Linked DNA regions of Homo sapiens: all the other regions are linked to region 1. The links are contacts of gene promoters, found by promoter capture Hi-C in blood cells and fetal thymus (Javierre and others, 2016). All regions are on one chromosome and are shown on one strand. The core of a region is centred on a gene start or on the middle of the fragment in contact, and the rest is flanking DNA. Distances in the headings are between cores, read along the strand shown. Region 1 holds the start of C8orf48 (chromosome 8 open reading frame 48). Region 2 overlaps TRMT9B (tRNA methyltransferase 9B (putative)). Region 3 holds the start of LOC105379289 (a long non-coding RNA gene).

The links. Contacts are between HindIII fragments. The CHiCAGO score rates a contact against its expected background, and 5 or more counts as called.
Region 2: a contact is called between a fragment that was not itself captured here and the fragment with the promoter of C8orf48 in region 1, in 1 of 17 cell types (erythroblasts). The highest score is 6.0, in erythroblasts.
Region 3: a fragment that was not itself captured here is called in contact with the fragment with the promoter of C8orf48 in region 1 in 1 of 17 cell types (megakaryocytes); the score reaches 5.7 in megakaryocytes.

What each region holds. Positions count from the first base shown.
Region 1 is chr8:13,564,663-13,568,443 of GRCh38, reverse strand. C8orf48 (chromosome 8 open reading frame 48) reads right to left here and starts at 1,575. Exons shown (of 1, transcript NM_001007090.3): 1 at 156-1,575. The coding sequence starts at 1,452. The coding sequence ends at 493. It also overlaps a transcript of DLC1 not described here. The HindIII fragment of the contact is 14,151 bases long and covers 1,267-3,781 here.
Region 2 is chr8:13,024,190-13,027,679 of GRCh38, reverse strand. It overlaps TRMT9B (tRNA methyltransferase 9B (putative)), which reads right to left. Exons shown (of 5, transcript NM_020844.3): 5 at 1-3,490. All of the region lies in intron 3 of LOC124901889 (a long non-coding RNA gene), which reads left to right. Among named protein-coding and RNA genes, the nearest start is that of TRMT9B, 80 kb to the right of the region's middle. The HindIII fragment of the contact is 2,427 bases long and covers 291-2,717 here.
Region 3 is chr8:12,862,889-12,866,790 of GRCh38, reverse strand. It overlaps LOC105379289 (a long non-coding RNA gene), which reads right to left and starts at 1,325. Exons shown (of 3, transcript XR_949509.3): 1 at 795-1,325. The HindIII fragment of the contact is 973 bases long and covers 1,922-2,894 here.

The DNA.
Region 1 (3,781 bases), core at 326-2,825:
TTTCTTCAAACTGTCAATGTGTATGTCCCAAATGCACCTTATATGTCCAAATAATCATACTCTTCAACAGTTCCATCAAACATAGTCCTCTTCTGGTGTTCCTGTCTTAATGAAATTAATGATCATTCATCCGGGCGCACAAGTCAGAGCCTTAATAACATTTCAAACATCTACTATTTATTAATTCCCCATAGCCATTTGATCGCCAAAGACAGTTATTACTTTTTAAGTTTCTCTTACATCCCCATACTACTTTGCTTCTGTACCATCAACATCCTGGCCCAAACTACCAACATAGTTCTCTTGGAATTTTGTAAAAGTTTTTATAACTATTCCAACTACAACAGTGCCTTCTATAATAGGAAAAAAAAAGTGAAAGTTCTTAGTCCTCAAATCTGTGAAGGAAGCATAGTAAAGTCTTAAGTTAGTTTCCCAAGTGCCTGTAGAAATTATGGTAATTACTCAAATACACAACAAAGACATCTATCCACATTACACATTATCATTAACAATCACCAGCTCTGGTTTGATTAGAGTAAGTCGCTTGAGAAATGGCAGAGAAAATGGTAAATGACAAGCACTATTTCCATCTCGCTGCAACTTCTGCTCTGTCTCTGATCTTTCAAAACCAGAGTATCTGATATGACTTTTCTCAGTCAGTCTTTTCCAGATTATTCTGGGGTCATCTGAAAGCCTGGGAAAGTCTTGATGTGCTTCTCCAATACGGGTGAGAAAGTCTTTGGTATGAAGATGTTCATCTATTCTCTCTTGGAGTAGAAATGACTCCAGTAAAGTCTTCTTTTGTTTCAGAAAGGCAGACAGGGCCAGCTCCGCTCTTTTCCTGTTACAATAGGGACACTGATAAGATATGTGTTGCTTAGCTGCTGCCTCCTGTTTTGGCGTTGTCCTCATGTTTTTAAAGTAGATTCTGTTCAAAAGTTCATCGGGTACAGTACAACTAAAGGCATCTCTCTCTGAAGCCTCTACATCCAATCCAAGATGCAGCTTTTTATGTCTGCTGCTCGTCTTCTTCTTAGAATCCCCTCTACGATGAATCAAATTTATCTTCATGGTGCAATAAGACTGCAGGGCATTCAATTCTTCATCTGATACCCGAGTGATTTCTGTTGGAAGTTTGGTGTCTGGTTGGTGCCGTTCAAAGTTAGAGTCTTTGAGCTTGAGGTAGTTGATCCATTTTTTACTCAACTTCTTTTCATAATTTTTATAGTCCAAAAGCTCAGATTGTGTGTCTCCTTGTTCCAAGCTTGGAGTCTGCTTTTCCCTCTCCAGTTTGCTCCCAGAGGTCAGGGGCGAGGACTGCCGTCCTCCAGAGGAGCTGAATGAGCTGGAAGTCTGTACCTCATCAGTAGAGTTCTTCAAAGTCTCAGTCTCATCAGAAAGGTTTGCAAGAGCACTTTTGTCCGTTTGGGCCAATTCTGGGCAGATGGCCATCACAATGCATCAGGCTCGGCTCCTCATCTCCTTTGCCCAGGTTAAGACTGGCTCAGGAACCCGTCAGGAGCTGACCCCTCCGGGAATGGATCTCAATGCCATCAGCTCTGCGGAGGTCGTCTTCCGGGAGACGCCTTCCCAGCTGTCTTGGCAACGCGGGCCGCTCATGCGCAGTGACTGGCCACCATGCGGCGTCCCGCCTTTTCCTCCGCGCTCCCCAGCGCCCACTGCGCTTGCGCTGCTTGCGCCGGGTTGGCGATTTTGCCCTGTCTTCTGCACTCCTGCTTCTCTTTGGTGCTAAAGTCGAGTAGTCAACGGGAAAACCTTGCAAACTCTGTTTCCCAGGGGTCAGACAGGTGGCACACGTGTGTGAGACCAATAGAGTTAGGTGGCCTGTGACAAATCCGAACGTGTACGCCCGCCTAAATGCATCTAGATTTAAAAATCAAGCAAAACGCGCTGGACAAGATGCACAAGCAAAAACTTGTCTGCAGTGTTTATAGCCAAGAGACACCTCCTTGTAGAGCATGTCTTTGGGGAAAAGTCAAAATACAGAAACCATTCTGTAAGAAGTAGTGTTCTGTGCTCCAGCATTCTGAGGACCTCGAAGTTTGGGCGGGGTCGGGGGTGGGGAGCAGGGGCGGGGGAGGACCTTAATTTTCCAAATCAGTTTCTCTGGCCTTTTGTCCATACAGGTCCCCTCTGGCTAGCATATCCACGCCCGTCCTCACTCTTAATATCGTTAATTTATCCTCCTCCTCCGAGTCCCATTTCCTCAGGAAGGGCTTAATACCCACCCCTGCCTTAAACTCTTTCCAGCATTTTTTTTTAAATAGTGTCCAACTATGTGATTGTATGAGTATCTGATTATGAAGGCTGAAGGCAGAAATCATGTCGGTGTTGCCGACTAGTATGAGCCCAGCAATCAGCAGACACATAGCAGGTGTTCAAGAAATCTCTGTTGAGTGAATGGCTATGGAACAAATAAATCTTACCTTACACACGTCCAGAGGATTTGGAGAAATAAGTACTATAAGTTCAGGGAACTCTAACCTTTTTTCTAACTGAATCCCCAAACTTAGGCTATTACACAGGATATATTTTTTATTAATGGATTCATTTAAAAAACACAGTAGAGTTTTATTAATTATCGTGAGAAATTATAAAATGTTAACTCTAGAGATGGACTTTTCCTAGGTTATAATAGTTCTTGAGTCTAGGACTTAGTCAATGTCTAGGATAATTTTAAGAGCCTAGACACCCTTCTTTCTCAGTTTTGTCTCTCTCTCTCTTTCTTCCTGTGTTTCTTGGGGATTGGGGGGTATTATTCAGGTCTAGCCAGATATATTCCCCAAATGTTCATTCTGGCAAAAAGTGAAAGTCAAATATTCAAAAAGCATCTCTCAAGTATATGAGCCAGCTTCCTGTTGAAGATAAGGAGACTCCAACTTCATTTATTCAACCCAAATTTTATTTTATCATATAATGGTAGTCTTTAAAAAAGAGGTGGCATGTAATTTGTGAGTAACTCCAAGTAATTTCCAATAGGGCTCAATATTTTCCTTATTTATTATTTCAAATCTCTGCCTCATTCTCTGAATATTTACACATTCATATTTACACACTATTCATGTTTTAGCTATATCTTATCCATAACATTGAACAAGGGAGCTATACTTAAAATAAAATCTATCTGTGTCTTCTAACATGCCAAATGTCTGGGGTAATCTGTCTTTTTTATAATCGTGTCTTAAATTTCTCTTGATTTTTAAAAATAACTTTATCCTAGAAGGAGATATATGTGGGTGGGAAATTCTATAATTAATTTCCTTGTAATATTCAGCGTGACCCAGTGGACAGTTTTACATTCTAGTAAGTGTGTTATCTAAGGAAGAAAATTTCTCAACAGTACTATATTTATCAAATAAGATTCATGAAAACACAGGTCAAAGTTTGATTTTAAACAAATATGAAGAGTAATAGTTTTCCTTTGGAAATCTCAATCTTCTTGCCATCTCTCAGGGGCTGTTGGGAATGTCAAAATGCTTTGTGGACCAAGCTGTGGCTGAAGGCTGCTTGTGGTGGGGATTGGGAGATATGAAGAATAGAAAAGAGAGTCCAGTCAGGCTCTCTTGGCCTAACCTTGCTATGCCCCTCCTGTTACTGTTCTGCAGCTACTTTCTCTTCTTCCTAGTTCCTATCAGAGAGCAGGGCCAAGGGTCTTCTCCCAGCTTTTTCCTTAATGATCAAGAATGCTTTGCAGCTATAAGGCCAACCCCAGAAAGAGGAAGTCAAAACAAATTCATGATTCCCCTTCTCTCTTGCTTTC
Region 2 (3,490 bases), core at 255-2,754, 540 kb after region 1:
CATTTGAAATCCAAGTATATATCTAGGGAATGTGGGAATTACTTGTCATTATGTAATTTCTTATGAAAGCTTTGTCTAAAATAGCAGATTGCAGAACAGAAAAAATCGGGTGCAACTGCAGGAAATGAGACTGAAAAATAATTCAGAGTTACTTTATGAAGGGCCTGAATGCCATCCAAAGGAGTCTGCATTTATTCTGTAAGACATATTATTTTCTGAAATATATCCCACAGAACACGTGCGCTATAGGATGTTAATACGTCTAGGGTAAGCTAGATTAAGTCCAAGCTTTAGGGTACTCCTTAAATATGCTAATATGCATCATGATTCTCTAAGGGAGGGTTGTTTGTTGTTTTCCTCAAACTAAACAATATAACTTGGTAATAGGCACACAGGGAATACGAAGAATGTTTCAGCTTGGCACCTGTGGGTCAGTTAATTCTAATATTCTGGGTACCTTCAAGATGCCAGATAGTCATTACCTTGTATCATATGTATCCAGCACACAGCAGACTGTGTATCCAGCACACAGCAGGGCTTAGTAAACAAATGGAGTGAATGAAATATCTGAATAGTCCTCAGTTGCCTTACTTATAAAATGGGAAAACAATAATATAATTGTTGAAAGGTTGAAGAGTTGGAGAAAAGTGGTCCCAGAATATTTTGCAACCAAGAACTATTTTTTAATTCAAATCAAATCGAAACAGATTTACAAATGAAAAAAAGATAAAAGGGAAAATATGTAAGAGACTACTATTGAATTATTGTCTAGCTGTGTAATCTTTGCTTAAACTTTTCCAAAGCTCATTTGGAAAGGGGATAATCACACTTACCTTGAAAGGCTCTAATACTCCGCCAAGCACATGAGCTGGGCCCAGGGGTGGGAGTATATGGTGTTGTGGTTAAGAGCAGAGACTAGGAGCCAGACCTGGGTTTGAATCCCAGCTCTGCCTCTAACTAAATGTGTGATACCTACTATGTGTGTAACCTTAAGCAATTTAATTTCTTTCTGCCTCAGTTTTCCTCATCTGCAAAATGGGAACAATAAGTATAGTTATCTTGGAGGGCTGTGGTGAGGACTGCATATAAATTAATGAACGTTGCTTTTTTTAAAAACAAAAATCCTTTATTACTCTTTTTTAACAAACAGCCCCTGGGACAGGGGACCAGGAGAAGGGGAAGGAGGGGAAGTGAGGCCCCAGCCGCACAACCCCTCCCCCCCACCCCTTTCCCCCTTATATATTTATAATCTATATACAAGCCCCGGGGGTAGAGGGCAAGAGGAACTCCCTCAGCGGGGTCACAACAGGTCCCAGTGTGTGATGTTCCCCTTACTGTGTCCATGTGTTCTCATTGTTCAATTCCCACCTATGAGTGAGAACATGCGGTGTTTGGTTTTTTGTCCTTGCGATAGTTGAATGTTGCATATTTAGAAAAGTTCACAGCTATTCTCATTTCAGATTTTCTATGTAATAGGAAAGAGATGCTGAGGCCTGCCCTAATTTGTTTTTCTTAGACTGCAGCTGCTTGTCTGGTGGTTGGTTCCCATTTCCTCCTTCCTCCAAAACTGGGGGCTCACAGCTCATATTTAACCTGTGCCCTCCCCCACCAAGTTCAAGTACTGAGTTAGAACTTCTGTTCTCCTCCAAACTCGTATATATGTATTAATTTAATTTAAAATCCACCAGTGCTTTTTTTTTGGCCATTAATAATCAGGGGCATTCATGTTCCTAGCTGGTTTATATTTGGATGGTTTTTTCTCTGGATTACTCCAAATTTTTGCCTATTGAATTGATGGTCACTTAAAAGACAGAGGAATTACTGGCATGTAGAATTTGGAAGGAAATAGAAAGGCAAACGAGAAATAAGAATTAGCACTATTCTGCACGGAGATCTATGATGAGAAAAGAGAACGAAACCAAACTCCAAGACGTTTGTGTAGCTAGTTTGTTAGTTACTTTGATATGCTGGTGTCATATCATCACTATACTGGCAATTGGAAAAAATTTAAATAGGTGCTTGAATGATTCTCACTATAACATTATTTTGATTCCATCCTTTGTCCATGTTAATGCGCTTTCCCCCAAATCCTTTGAAGATTCTGTGGAATTCCTCAAATAGACAGTGAGGCATCAGGAAGCCAGCAAAGTTTTGTTTTGTTGGAGATGGAGTTTCACTCTTGTTGCCCAGGTTGGAGTGCAATGGCACAATCTCGGCTCACTGCAACCTCCGCCTCCCAGGTTCAAGCGATTCTCCTGCCTCAGCCTCCCAAGTAGCTGGGATTACAGGCATGCGCCACCAACCTGGCTAATTTTTTGTATTTAATAAAGACGGGGTTTCACCATGTTGGTCAGGCTGGTCTCAAACTCCTGACCTCAGCTGATCCACCCACCTCAGCTTCCTGAAGTGCTGGGAGTACAGGTGTGAGTCATCGTACCCAGCTGCCAACCAAGTTTTTAAGACTCCTCCAATAAACCCCCAAACTCTCCCTTCTATTTCAGATAGTGGGACTCTGTGCTGATGCCAGTAAGTAAAGAAGAAGGAATAAGAAAGACACTGTGTGATCTAGTATTAATAAGGAAGTAAGTGATCAGATTACTCCAGCTAGGTCAGTAGAATCTATCATCAAGCAAGTTGAGGCCGACAGCATTCACAAATCAACTGTCTACGTTTATACTCACTGATGACCTGTGTTTCCTTTCGAGGACAAGCAAGCTTTTTAAATGATCAAGACGTTTACATTAGTTTTGCTCTTCAATGGCTTTTTAAAAAAAATCCAAAGGCGGAAGTTAAATTTAAAAGAGCTTTCCATGTGACTACCCCAAAGAGAGATTATCAATCACCAAATTAAATATTTGTATACAAAATAATATCTGGATGCATAGATTCTTATGTTCATTAGATGAAGAGTAAAAGACTTATTAGTCAGCATGCTTTATTTACACCCCTGTCAAACGTACATGAAAATATTTCTCTCCAAAGAACCGTTCTAGAGAACCCTTTCATACAAAGTGGTGTGTGCACATCTAAGAGGTTGCTCAGACAGTTTAGCTCAAAGGCTAAAGAGTCTGGTAAACTGAGTTCCACCAAGTCTTGACTTTTAACTGGTAGGCTAGCAGCAGAAAGAGAGGACTTCAAGCACAGATTTCTAGCAGCAAGGCCAGGATTAAAAACCCATGTGACAATAGGCTTCAGAGAGAGGAACAATCCATTCATAATTCAAAGGCCGTCAAGCCCGAGTTGTAAGACCATTTTGACTCTGAGAATCTTTTCTTTTTACCAAGGAAATCCCTTGCAGTCATGGTTTAGTGTCCTGAATTAAGAAATAAAAGGAACAGGCCGGGCGCGGTGGCTCACGCCTGTAATCCCAGCACTGTGGGGGGCCGAGGCGGGTGGATCACGACGTCAGGAGATCGAGACCATCCTGGCTAACACGGTGAAACCCCGTCTCTCCTAAAAATACAAAAAAACAGCCGGGCGTCGTGGTGGG
Region 3 (3,902 bases), core at 1,159-3,658, 700 kb after region 1:
TGGTGTGCTGGTAAGTGTTTAACAACCGGGCTCTCTGAAAAGCCTGATTTGTAGCATTTGCCAACTTTTCTGGTGTAAATAATTCTACAGTGGCTCATTACAAGTTACCAACGTGAAGTCACTGAAAGTGGAGTTGGGAAAGATGCTCATTTGCTGCCACAAGCTGGCTCCAGCATACCTCTGATTGAAGATGAGAAGGTTTGAGCTGGATTTTATATTCTGCAAAGAATATGTAAGCGCTAATAGCTCATAGTAGAAAAACCATGTGCTTAAAAGTTTGATAGATCCACATTTAAATCCAGCTCCACTGCTTTCTAGCTTTTAGCAATGTGTTTTTTGAATCTAAGTGTTAATGTCTTTAAAATGAGCTGATAATACCTACCTTTCAAGGTTATTGAAAAATTAGAAAGGATAATGTATATAAATCACCTCAGCAGAATGTATATTTCTAATAAGTGGTGAGCTGACTATCCAAAGCCACCAGAGGACAAGATGTTCAGGCACAAAGATGCTGAAATGGGGGCTAGCACACTGAGCAAACTCTTGTCCTCTAATCCCAGAGAGTTTATATCTAGGAAGAGCAGTCTGCTTAACTGGCTATGAGGAAGTCATTCTGGTCATAATGAGAGATACATATTGGAGGAATGTGGAGCACTAATATCAGATAAATATTGTGTCTCGATTTTGGTTTTCTGCATAGGAAGCAAGAGAAGGAAATTCATTGTCAAATAATAGAGAACACATTGCTTTGGGAACTCTGGTTCTGACCTAATGGCAGAAGGAACAAGACTTACCTGTCTCTTTGTTGTCTTTCTGTTGGAGTGGATTTGTTTCTAGTCTTTGCTCTTAATAGGGAGCAGTACTTTGAAAGTGCTGACTTTATGTAGGCCCCTTGGTTCCAACTTCCCATTTGAGAAAGACTCAAGGCTTCATTCATCTCCCCTCTTCTTTTTCGTATTAACAGAGATGCCCCAGGTAACTGAAGATCAGCAGATTCCTAGATTGCTGAGACTAACAACCTGTCCTCTGGAAGCCAGAGCATCACTGCTCAAAGCTTCTCACTGTGGTTTTAGTTCCAGGTTCATTTCTGAACTGTGTCTACATTAGATAATAAAAATATATTATATTTTAGCCAGTATTTCTAGGTGCTTTTAGTGGAAGGATTTTCAAATTCTGTCCTCCACAAGCCGATAGCTGTCAAATAAGTTTATCCCTCCAATCCTATAGGCCAAACAATCTCCAGTTCTATCAGTTAAACGTCCCATTTCAAACCAGTCCAAACTCTTGCCCTGCTACTCAACTCCCAACCTGGCTCACATTTTCAACTTCAGTTTCCCCAGGCATATCCAATCCCCCTACCCTCTGATCAAACTAGAAAACACTCTCTATGATCTAACAATCCACAAAGCAAATACTGCATGGTTCGAAGTCTGTGACAGTAGATGTTTTTTTGATTTGAAGAAGAAGAATAGAAGCATCAAGAATCCTCGCAGAAAAGTTTTTAAATGATTTGTAAAGGATTCATTTAAAAATGATTTTGTTAAGACCCTCCCATGGTAATTGCTAATATTTATAAAACCCAAATTTATGCCTGAAAGTTTCAGTAATTGAGAACAAAAGTAACATCTAAAAACCCCATTACAAACAAACAAGCTTTTTTTTAGTATAAAGTCTTACATTAGTATAAAGTTCTTAGTCTTTACTGTTGAGTCCTTGATGTAAAGTCTTAACTAGTTTTTCTTTTTCTTTTTTTTTAGAGATGGGGTCTGATTATGTTGCCCAGGTTGGCCTTGAACTCCTGGACTCAAGTAACCTCCACTTAGGCCTCTCAAAGTGCTGGGATAACAGATGTGAGCCACTGTGCTCAGCTTCTTTACATTTTTAGTGTAAACTTAGGGTAAAATCTCCTATTGTAGAAGCTTCTATTGTGGTCAATGTAATATGTCAAATTGACTAGGTTATGGTACCCAGATGTTTGGTCAAACACTAAACTGGATGTAGCTGTGAAGGTATTTTTAGAATAAACTTAACATTTAAATCAGTAGACTTTCAGTAAAATAGACTACCCTTCATAATATGGGTAGGCCTCATTCAATCAGGTCTTAGGAGAAAAGACTGAAGCATCCCAAAGAGGAAGAAACTCTGCCTCAAGATTTCAATATAGAAACACTGCCTGGGTGTCCAGCCTGCAGATTTTGGATTCAGGTCTTCAACTTCAACTCTTGCTGAATTTCCAGCCTGATGGTTTGCTGTACAGATTTTGGACTTGCGAGACTTTCCGCCAGATGCTTCCTCTCACCCCTTGTCCCTGGCATGGCTTTATTCCAGAACCTCTGTCAAAATATACTTTATGGGTGGCTACTCTGGCTTAATGAAGAGATAGAGATGGCAAACTTCTCATCAAGTCATATTTGTTTGGCTCTCCAAAAAATGTATTAAGCTATTAATATATTTGCAGCACTGGGGCCACCTCAAAAATGGGTTAAAAGATGGGTTCTTCTGGCAGGGCGTGGTGGTGCATGCCTGTAATCCCAGCACTTTGGGAGGATGAGGCGGGTGGATCACCTGAGGTCGGGAGTTTGAGACCAGCCGGACTAACATGGTGAAACCCCGTCTCTCCTAAATACAAAAAAAATTAGTCAGGCATGGTGGCAGGTGCCTGTAATCCCAGCTACTCAGGAGGCTGAGACAGGAGAATCACTTGAACCTGGGAGGCGGAGGTTGCAGTGAGCCGAGATCGTGCCATTGCACTCCAGCCTGGGTGACAAGAGTCAAATTCTGTCTCAAAATAAATAAATAAATAAATAAAATACCTTCTTCTCACACTCATTAGGAAGGCTAGTATCGAAAAATGGAAAATAAATGTTGGTGAGAATGTGGAGACCTTGGAAGCTTTGTGCACTGCTACACATGCTACAACAGAGGTGAGTATTGAAGACATTGTGCTACATTATGTGAAATAAGTAGGTCACAAAAGGACAAATAATGTGTGATTCCACCTATATGAGGTACCTAGAATAGATACATTCACAGAGATGGAAAATAGAAGTTACCAGTGGTTGGGGGGAGAGATTAATCAGGAGTTATTATTTAATGAGTACAGTTTCTGTTTGGGATGATGAAAAAGTTCTAGAAATGGGTGGTGATAATGATTGCGTAACAACGTGAATGTAGTTAATGCCAATGAATTGTACACTTCAAAATGATTTACATGGTAAATTTCATGTTAATGTATGTTTTACCACAATAAAAATGTACCTTCTTCTTTCAATCATGCACATGGGTCTAGATAAGCTTACATTGTTGGTAGAGATGATAAAAGAGAAAATAGTGAGAGTCCATAATTCTGTTCCGAGGTGGGGACTAGTCAATATTTTCCTCCAGTTTGGCTAAAAATTTGAAAACAATCAAATTTGTTTTGACATTTATTAAGCTGATGAAAATGATGGGATGGTACAGTCAAAAAGGTAGAAATTATAGTTTTTTTAATACTTTAAGTTCTGGGATACATATGCAGAATGTGCAGGTTTGTTACATAGGTATACACGTGCCATGGTGGTTTGCTGCACCGATCAACATATTATCTACATTAGATATTTCTCCTAATGTTTCTTCTCCCTTCTTGAAGTGTTGGACAGTTTTGTATTTTCTTTGGCTCTGAATGCATGCAATCTTGATAGAGGCAGACCCATCTACTTCTGAAGGTCAGGTTGCTTGCGGCAGCTCAGTTATTCAAGTGTGCAGTGTGAAGAAGGAAGGAGACTGGATACAATAATTACTTAAGCAGCTACTAGTTTCTTGACCAGAGTTAAACCGCTTAATCTTCTGTGCCATGGTTTCCTAGCCTGCGTGTCTTCTCGCTTCAGTTTGTAAACTAAGATTGACCCTAAATCAGAAACAGA